Linked DNA regions of Homo sapiens: region 1 is linked to region 2. The links are contacts of gene promoters, found by promoter capture Hi-C in blood cells and fetal thymus (Javierre and others, 2016). All regions are on one chromosome and are shown on one strand. Each heading gives the region's core, a stretch centred on a gene start or on the middle of the fragment in contact. The rest is flanking DNA. Distances are from core to core; before and after follow the strand shown. Region 1 holds the start of MED7 (mediator complex subunit 7). Region 2 holds the start of SLU7 (spliceosome associated SLU7).

Region 1 (4,722 bases), core at 1,845-4,344, 3.3 Mb before region 2:
TCTTCCATAACCAAACTACACAGGCTGTCTCCCAATCTCATATCACAATCACTTTTGTTTTATGTTATAGATTTATTTCCAATAGCAAACACTTACTTGTATCTCTCATAAACACTCTGACAAAATTAACATTGCTAAATCCTAAACACATTATTATCCAAAGTTCCTGAATGAAATGATGATTCAGTTCCATACCCTTTTTGTCACAGTATACTATGCAATTTTATATGGACACATTAACTTTTGTTTGTTTTTTGAGATGGAGTCTTGCTCTGATGTCCAGGCTAGAGTGCAGTGGTGCAATCTCAGATCTCAGCTCACTGCAACCTCCGCCTCCTGGGCTCAAGCAATTCTCCTGCCTCAGCCTCCTAAGTAGATGGGATTACAGGCGTGCACCATGTCTGGCTAATTTTTGTATTTTTAGTAGAGACGGGATTTTGCCATGTTGGCCAGGTTGGTCTCTTTACTCCCCATCTCAGGTGATCCGCCCACCTTGGCCTCCCAAAGTGCTGGGATTACAGGCGTGAGCCACCACGCCTGGCCTGTATGGACACATTAACTTCTCTACAACTATCACAGAAATGTCAAACCCCAGGTTCAAACCCAGTATCTATGGCCATAATAACCTCTACTTATTCTACCTTAAGCCTAGGTATACCATCCAATGAGAAGATCCTTAAGTGCTCCTTTAGATTGGTGTTATCAGAGTTTCAAGATATAACACACTCTAACATCGGGTGGGGCAAGTATCCTACTAGAAGCAATATTATACTTAGAATTCGTGAGGTACTGAGGGCAGCTGTGGCGCAGCCCTGAGTTTCCACTATGCCACAGTGGTGCATAGGATGATGCAGCCTCGCCCTCCTAGGCTCAAGCGATCCTCCCACCTCAACCTCCCAAGCAGCTGGGACTACAGGCATGTCACCAAGCCCGGCTAATTTTTGTATATTTTGTAGAGACAGAGTTTTGCCATGTTACTCAGGCTTGTTTCAAACTCCTGAGCTCAAGCAATCCTCCTGCCTTGGCCTCCCAAAGTGCTGGGATTACAGGCGTGAGCCACCACACCCAGACATTTTAAAACTTTTAACATAAATTCAGATTACAGAAAAAGTGCATGAATACACAAAAAACACTTCATATTCTTCACTCAGATTCTCCAAATGTTAACATTTTCCTTCATTTGCTTTATTGGTTTTTCATTCCTTTACCCCTGAATACTTCAGTGTGTTTTCTCGTGACAAGAATGTTTTCTTCTACCCAAAGCACAATTACCAAAATCAAAGAATTAACAGTGATCTGGTACTTCAAAATACATTTTTTTTTTCCCTGAGACAGTGTCTCGCTCTGTCACCCAGGTTGGAGTGCAGTGGCACGATCTCGGCTCACTGCAAGCTCGGACTCCCGGGTTCACGCCATTCTCCTGCCTCAGCCGCCTGAGTAGCTAGGACTACAGGCGCCCGCCACGACGCCCGGCTAATGTTTTCTATTTTCAGTAGAGACGAGATTTCATCGTGTTAGCCAGGATGGTCTCGATCTCCTGACCTCGTGTTCCACCTGCCTCGACCTCCCAAAGTTCTGGGATTACAGGCGTGAGCCACCGTGCCCGGCAGAAAATACAATTTTTGACAGCTCACGTTTCATCCCACTCAAACCTTTTTAGGTGAGGAGTGCTGCTCTGTACTTTCCTACACGATGTGCATTCCTGTATTGCGGCTGCCATTTTCCTAAGGCCAACTACATGACAGGTACCATTTTTTATGGCCTCTGTAACATAATCTTCATTAACAATTCTATGAATTAAGGTTTTTGGGGTTTTTGTTGTTAGTTTTGTTTTTTGAGACAAGGGCTCAATCTGTCTCCCAGGCTGGAGTGCAGTGGTACCATCAGGGCTCACTGCAACCTCTGCCTCCCGGGTTCAAGGGATTCTCCTGCCTGAGCCTCCTGAGTAGCTGGGGACTACAGGTGCGCACCACCACGCCCAGCTAATTTTTGTATTTCTCGGTAAAGACAGGTTTTCACCATGTTGGCCAGGCTGGTCTGGAACTCCTGACCTCAAGTGATCCGCCCACCTCGGCCTCCCAAAGTGCTGGGATTACAGGCGTGAGCCACCACACGGTCCCACGAATTAAGTTCTATTATCAATTTCATTTTAGAAGTGAGGATCCGAAGTCTCAATGAGGGGAAGTGTTGCCCCAGATCAAAAGGTTAATAAATGGCACAACAGGAATTCTTATCCCAGGTCCCTTTAGCTCCAAAGGGCAAGCTCTCTTATATCCCTAAGCCGAGAAGCATCTAACTGTACAATAAGGACTGGCATATCACAAAAATTATATTTCTTTCTCTACTGTCTCTCTAGATGGAACTTTTCAAAGGTGATGGAGGTCTTATTTTTAATAAAAGCAGAGCCAAGCATCAGAGCTGGTTCTTAACTCAAGATCCAACATCTAGTGTTTGTTCTACTGGGGGAGAAGGAGCTTCACCAGAAGACGACAGACATTCCAGGGTCCCAGCCCCAGAGATTTGATTCATTCTGTCTACTGTGAATGGGCCCTAGAATGTCGCTTTTAAAACCTCTCCAGATGGACCTGACGATTAGGCTTGGGATCTACCGCCCTCGCCTGCCCCCATACCTCAGCTGTTTCATAACTGCTCCCAGAAGAAGGAAGGGCAGGGAGGGCTACTCTCATGTTACAAAGAGCCGGAGAGGGCAAATGACTCGCCCAAGGCCACACAGCTTAGAAAAACAGCGGCGCGGGGACTAGACGCCAGGTCTCCCAACCTCCACTCCGGCTCGGCGTCCCAACACGGAGGAAGCCCCGAGACTGCCACGCTTAGAGCCCCCTCCTCCAGGCTGTCCACCCCGAGGCCTCCGCGCTCTCGGAGAGACCGCACTCTCGGAGAGACTCGGGAGAGAAAGACGAAAGACCGCCTTTGGAGGCCGAACTCAGCCATGCCTCCCCAGTTCCCAGCCCAGCACAGAGGAAGCTGCGGGGTCCGGAAGAAAAAAACGCACACAGGCGGCGGCCCCAAACCGTTGCCGCCCACTTACCTCAGCTCTGGCTTTACACTGGTAGCCGCCTTCCCCTCTGCAGCCGAAACCAACTTCCGGTCTCCTCCGGGAAGAAGCCACCGACTCTGTCCTTGATTGGCTGTAAGAGCTGTCCTTTAACGAAATTCTAGCTCCGCCTCAGACCGATCCCTCGCTGTTGCGCCTACGTATGTTTGACTCCTCCCATCCACCCGTTACTGACTTTTAAAAGTCGTAGCTGAGGGTTCCGTTTCTTCGTTTCTTTTTGAATTAAGGCATAAAATTGAACAAGACACCTTATTGCTTTATTTTTTATAGACCCCTTATTGACCAGAAACAATCTTATGTTTTAATGTTTAACATGCTCTTGTAAGACTTAACGTGAATTTAGAAATTTATGACACGAAAATAACCTCCAAAAGAAACGCTTGCTATTGCGCCTGCGTATATTCCACCCCCTTCCCCATTACCACTCTTTTACTGACTTAGTCGCTGCTGGTAGTTCCATTCCTTTTGTCCTTTTTTAATTTAACGCATACAATTAAGACGTCTTACATACAAATTCGAAAATATAGACATGCAGGGTTTTTTTGTTGTTTTTTTCTTTGAGACGGAGTCTTTCTCTTTCGCCCAGGCTGGACTGCAGTGGCGCGATTTCGGCTCGCTGCAACTTCAGTCTCCGGGATTCAAGCGATTCTCGTGCCTCAGCCTCCCGAATAGTTGGGGTTTCACCTATTTTTTTTTCTTTTTTTTGTATTTTTGGTAGAGACAGGGTTTCACCGTGTTGGCGAGGCTCATCTCGAGCTCTTGATATGAAGTGATCCGCCCGCCTCGGCCACCCAAAGTGCTGGGATTGTAGGCGTGAACCACCACTTCCGGACTCCCCCATTTTAAATCCCTCGCACGTATCAATTTATTTCCTGAAGAAATCCATCTACGTTGAGCATAACCCAATCCAGCTTTTCTCCTCACCGCTGACCCCAATGTATCCTGCACCAGTGACTTCCAATGGTCGTTCCCAGTCCTCATTTTACTCCATCTGTCAGCAGCATTTGGCACATTTGATTAATGGATTGCCCCAGGACTCAGTTCTCCAACCACTTCTCAGTCAGATATCAGCTGGATGATTACATGCAGGCCCTGGAACACCGTTTCCTCTGCACTTCAGACCCTCATATCCAGTGGTGACAGACATCTTTCCCCAGTTGCACTTTACTCAATTGCAAATGTTCAATCGAAGGAATCACCTTTTTCTCCTTTCTCACATACCCCACCGAAACTACCATACCAGCCTTTTGCATTAGATCTATTTAAAAATAAGTAAATAAAGTTCCAAATATGACTGACCACCGTTCCCACTGCTATGGTCCTATGCCATGCCACCATTATCTCTCACCTGGACTTCTTTGATTTTTTGTCCTCCCTTAGTCTATTTACCACACCTTCTTAAAATATAAGACCGGTCTTATCACTCCTCTATTCAAAATCCTCCAAGGCTTTCTATGACTTTTAGAATAAAATCTGACATCCTTCCCCTGGCCTATATCACAGGCCCTACAAAATTGCCAAGTACATCCCGGCCTTGGGGCCAATGCATTTGCCTGGAACTCTTTGCACAGATATTGACACGTCTCATTTCCTTCTTTCCTTTTTTTTTTTTTTTTTTTTTTTTTTTTTTTTGAGACGAAGTCTTG
Region 2 (5,391 bases), core at 160-2,659:
ATCCTAGCTACTCGGGAGGCTGAGACAGGAGAATCACCTGAACCCAGGAGGCCGATATTGCAGTGAGCTGATATTGCGTCACTGCACTCCAGCCTGGGCGACAGAGCTAGACTACGTCTCAAAAAAAAAAAAAAAAAAATGACGCTCCAAAGGATTTTATCATTCGTACTCTAAAAACTGACATCTTTTTAACACACCTACACGGTCCACCATGGTCTGGCACCTGCCTACCTTCCAGCCTCACCATTACAACTATCCCCGCTTCCTTCTCTACTAACTACATAGACCTTCTTGTAGTTCCTCTAGTTCCTCTAACAAACCGTGCTCCCTGTAGACACTGGGCCTTTACACAAGCTCTTTCCCAGTGGAAAGTGCTCAATGCCTGGGGGTCTACGATGCTTCTCAAAGGTGTTCTCTTCTATGTCTGACCTATAGAAAACCTCCACATATATTTGTGTAACATATAAACTGATGGCCTAAATATACTGCGAAGAGAAGCACAACAACGGTAAATTTAATCTTTATTAAAACAGCTACCATTTCTCGAGCCTACCGTGTATCACCTCATCTAATCTTCACAATAAGCCCAGTAGATAGGTCTGATGAACACCATTTTACAGTGAAGAAACAGGTTCTGAGAGGTAAGATCCTCAGCCAAGAACACATTGTAGTAAGAAATAAGGACTTCAAACACAACTCTGACTCCAAAGTCAGTTCTCTAAACCAGTATGTTATACTTGTCCACAGAACATTGGCTTCTGGGCCTAAAATATTAAAAACTAAAACTGAATAAAGTATTATAGTCACCAAGTTGTACGCACTAGTTTCCGTCGCTGTGGAGGGACCTATTTTCTCCAACTAAAAACAGTAATAGCTCCCACTTACTGAGGGCTTACGTAAGACACTGTTTAGCGCTTTACTTACATAGATGTTTTCATTTATACCCGCATGATACCCCACTGAAGTCGGATCATCTCGACTTAACAGGAAAAACTGAAGCTCAAGTAAATTTTTCTGGCGAGGAAATACAGTCTGTCAATTTGGGTACTGGAAGCAGCTTTCCCTGCTCGCAGTCCGGGGATTGCTCAAGGTCTTCGAGGCACCGCCACAAAGGCGACACTCTCATAGTTATCCCGACTGTTTCCCTGAAGACGCAGGCCTGGCCTGGCAGGGCACGAGTGCCATGAATGGGTCTCAGGACAGTGGCTTTTCGGTCCCCCGTCCTCGCTCCCTCAACACCTGAGGGCTCATCACCCCCGTGAAGATATATCCAATAATTAGGAGCCTTCGACTCATTTTCTCAGGTTCCCCAACTCCCCGTCGCCCGCAAGTTCTAACAATATTTTCTTACCCAGCCCCGCCGCAGCTAGCCCCAAGTCCATCCGACAGAATCCAAGCCAATCTCGTAATGTTTACTTCCGGCTTTTCGCCTAATTCCGGCGGCCACTGCGGTAACTTCCGGATGACCGGCACATGCGCACTAATTTCCTGGCGGGGCCGGGGGCGGAGGGGGGCCCTCCAGTGCTCCTGCGCCGTGGGAAACGCGAGAACTCTAGCTGCTGCGTATCGCGCTATTTACCCGGCTTGTGGGGAGTTTCAAGTTGGGCGGCTACTTTTTGGCTTCTATTTAGGAGCTTTCTTTTAGAATCGGAGAATTTTAGGAAGTTAAAAAAAAAAAAAAAAGACCAGAACAGACAAGAGCTTAAGCCTCACCAGGGGACTATGAAATGAATGGGGAAGTTGGTGACGTATCAGCTTAAAAAAAAAAAAAAAGCAGTTAAACTTGGCACTAATTAGTAGCCAGGCTGTGTAACATGCTGGGGATTTGGTGAACAGTGTCTTCCCTCAGATTTACATCAGAGTGCGAAAGACACCGAAACAACTATTCAGATTTAGCAGCTGTGAAAAGTTGCTATGAAAAGAATACCAGGTGCTGTGAGAACATAAGGCATGTTATCATTAGAAAAAAATACGACAATTTCCATTTTGGAGAAACAGTATCTATGCTATCCCATCCCTTCTTTAAAAGTATACATGTGAAATAAAACACTGGAAAATAAACTAATTTTCGTGGTAGAATTTCTTGTGATTTTTTTTTTTCTTTGTGCTTTCTATTCTGGTTGTTCTCCCCCTCCCCCCCATAACGTGTATCCTTTTTGAATGTAAAAGTAAAAGTAGCTACCATTCCTGCCTCAATAAAATAGCCCAACATAATAGAATCTATTTTTTTCGTATTAAGAATTTGCAATACCTGGAGTTTAGGAACATAAATATTAATTTTGCTTTTACAGGGCAGTAGATGAAGAAACAGTGTCAGAGACTAGCGTGAAAGTGAATAGAGTCTATGAATCACTCAGGCTTTGTTTTTTTCCACTTAAAAATATTCCTGAAATTTGCTTAGGAGTGTTAAGGCCTAATTAGCCAAAACCACCAGGAGAGCGCATCTCGAAGAGGAATCAGAAAGCGCAGGACAAGACAGTTGAATCTTTTCTAAGACTTGAGGTCCCTCTGGAGGGTTCTGAGGAAGGTCTAGGAAAGCCGGGATTGGTTCTGGATGGGTTGCTGTTTGTAAAGAAGGATTGGGAGAAACTGATTAGGGACTAAGTGCTGTTATGAGTGAGGGTGGTTTAGCAATTGAGTATTTCCAGTAATAGGAATAGCAAAGCTGGTCTGAGGGCATCATTAGTAAGAAAACAGTGGTTATTCAGAGAGGGTGGTTATGGTTTACAGCTGCTGCATGACCTTAGGAGAAACAATGCTTTCTGTTGGTGAAAAAAAGAAGACATCCTAAGACAAACCTTGCACCTCAAAACCTCTGTAGATAGAGAATCCCCACTTGGAAGCTATAGGTGTTGTGCAGATTTAGTCTTAAAAATTAACACTTTGAGTGCTGATAATATAATATGATGATGTAAAATTTAGGAGATACAGGAGGAAATAAAGGATGGGGATAAAGGAAAAAGAACAGTGAAGGGACAATAAAGGTATGCATATTTTTCTGTCTTTCCTCTTTTCTTCACCTTAAGTTAGGCTCTTTTCTTATAACCTAGTATAATGTCCAGCATTTAATAGGTATTCAATAAATATTTGTGAATGAATGAATCATTCAATCAATATTGGTCCTGAAATGCCAGGGAAAAAGAGATGATGAACTGGCATATATTGAGAACCATGTCTATGTCAGGTATAGTGTCAAGCCTTTCGTGAAAGAGTAATATGGAATCAACTCCTCTCTCTCAGCTGATCTGCAGCTTAAAATGCATATATGGTGAACTGTGGGAAGCGGAGTTTGAATGACACAGGTCAGCCTTATGTTTTAATTTATATCTTCATCTTGTAGTTGTTCAATGTATTCCATTTTACTATAGAAACAGGAAAAGGTCGTCAACTTTTTCAAGCAAAATTTCTTTTCATATCTGGGAAATTGGAATTCCTTTTTTATATCTTTATTATCTCTCTGATATTCTCTTGCTCCCTGGCCAAGCCCTTCCAGGCAACTTTGGTTAATATATTATTGAGATGTTAGAGGTTTAAAATAAATCACTATCAAAGGATAGAATTTTAAGGGAAGACTAAATTATGTATTCATTAGAATCATAATTTTGTTCCTAAGACAGATTCGTGATGGTATAATAGAAACAGTGTCTTAGCCTGAAGTATTGAGGATAGTCCTAAGATTAGGGAACGATCAGTTCGTTCTTAATCATAAGCATAAGAGAATGACTCAAACGCTGCTGTTTGATCTACCTGTACTTACATTTCTTCTTAATTTTAAATTCTTCTCTGCTAGTATTCTTTAGACCCAACATTGGTTGTTTCCCCTATTTCTTCAATATTTCTATTTATTTTCCATCCTTTTTACAGGGTCATCTAAATAAAAATATCTTAAAGCAATAAACCATTGTTATTGAGTCAGTACCTCAGTCCATGCAGCTTAATAATATGGAGAGCAAAAAAAAAAAGCCTCTCGATTTATTTTTTAATATTACACGATCCTAGTTTTTTCTTCCCAGAAAACGTGCCACAAAGTTTGCAAGAAAGAGCTTTTGGGGCGGAGCCCTGGCTGCTTAGGTCCTTTCCATTGGTTCTACTTGGTGACCACGCCCACGGCCCCGCCTCCTGGGCGGAAGAGCCAATTGGGCCGCGAGTTGTGGTTTAAACCAGGAGTGCGCCGCGTCCGTTCACCGCGGCCTCAGATGAATGCGGCTGTTAAGACCTGCGTGAGTGAATGGGAGGGTCGCGGGTGGTTAGTTGAGCCGGCTCCGGCGGGGAAGGAGGCGGGCTGCGGCTGCGGCTGGGGCTGAAGCTGGGGCTGGGGTTGGGGGACTGCCCGGGGCTTAGATGGCTCCGAGCCCGTTTGAGCGTGGTCTCGGACTGCTAACTGGACCAACGGCAACTGTCTGATGAGTGCCAGCCCCAAACCGCGCGCTGCTCGGGACCTTAGAGCCTCTGACTCAGGCTGGAAGATTTGAGAGCTGGATTAAGTACTTGTTGGCTCACGCCCGTGACTGTTCCGCTGTTTAGCTCTTGTTTTTTGTGTGGACACTCCTAGGATAGAAAGTTTGGTATGTTGCTATACCTTTGCTTCTCCCACCTTCCCCAATATCTAATATGTATTTCTCATTCTTAGAATAATCCAGAATGGCTACTCTGATCTATGTTGATAAGGAAAATGGAGAACCAGGCACCCGTGTGGTTGCTAAGGATGGGCTGAAGCTGGGGTCTGGACCTTGTAAGTATACAAGGCTGCAGTCGGATACACTGGTATTGTGGACGTGGCCTGGAGCTGGACGAGACATTTAGTGTACTTTTTGGGCAATTGGAGTCGTTTGTTATTGGTCCTTTTTCATTTTTAATATCTTAATGAGATGATTTAAGGAAGTTACTGAATCTCTGCTATTAGGCCTATCATAGCCATGCCACTACCAAAAGTGGGGGGTGGGTTTGGGGGTGAGAGGTCAAGTTTATATACACAGTATTTAAGTTGTACAGGTATTTTGCTGCTGGAATATTCTTATGGTAAGACTTTTTCTTCAGCAATCAAAGCCTTAGATGGGAGATCTCAAGTTTCAACACCACGTTTTGGCAAAACGTTCGATGCCCCACCAGCCTTACCTAAAGCTACTAGAAAGGCTTTGGGAACTGTCAACAGAGCTACAGAAAAGTCTGTAAAGACCAAGGGACCCCTCAAACAAAAACAGCCAAGCTTTTCTGCCAAAAAGGTAAGTGTTGGCTATAAAGACACTGTTTAAACACTTAAGCACTTTTGACTCTTAAAATGACTATTGGCATCATCCTACGTAGCTTTCTTCCCTCTGAGTAGAAGGGAAATAGAGGTTAGCAAGCAGAGTAGTGGAGGAGACTCAGATTGTCCTTGTGGACTTCTTGGTA

The links. The method cuts DNA at HindIII sites, captures the fragments that hold promoters and counts their contacts. A CHiCAGO score of 5 or more calls a contact.
Region 1: the fragment with the promoter of MED7 here is called in contact with the fragment with the promoter of SLU7 in region 2 in 6 of 17 cell types (naive B cells, total B cells, neutrophils and 3 more); the score reaches 14.4 in naive B cells.

The regions. Positions count from the first base shown.
Region 1 is chr5:157,139,771-157,144,492 of GRCh38, forward strand. MED7 (mediator complex subunit 7) reads right to left here and starts at 3,095. Exons shown (of 2, transcript NM_004270.5): 1 at 3,050-3,095. RefSeq lists enhancers at 2,763-2,812, 3,623-3,722. The HindIII fragment of the contact is 9,177 bases long and covers 1-4,722 here.
Region 2 is chr5:160,417,672-160,423,062 of GRCh38, forward strand. SLU7 (spliceosome associated SLU7) reads right to left here and starts at 1,410. Exons shown (of 16, transcript NM_006425.5): 1 at 1,352-1,410. It overlaps PTTG1 (PTTG1 regulator of sister chromatid separation, securin), which reads left to right and starts at 4,184. Exons shown (of 6, transcript NM_004219.4): 1 at 4,184-4,220; 2 at 4,631-4,732; 3 at 5,038-5,222. The coding sequence starts at 4,642. RefSeq lists enhancers at 1,122-1,171, 1,622-1,741, 1,752-1,821, 4,433-4,989 and silencers at 4,019-4,078, 4,179-4,338. The HindIII fragment of the contact is 5,685 bases long and covers 1-5,204 here.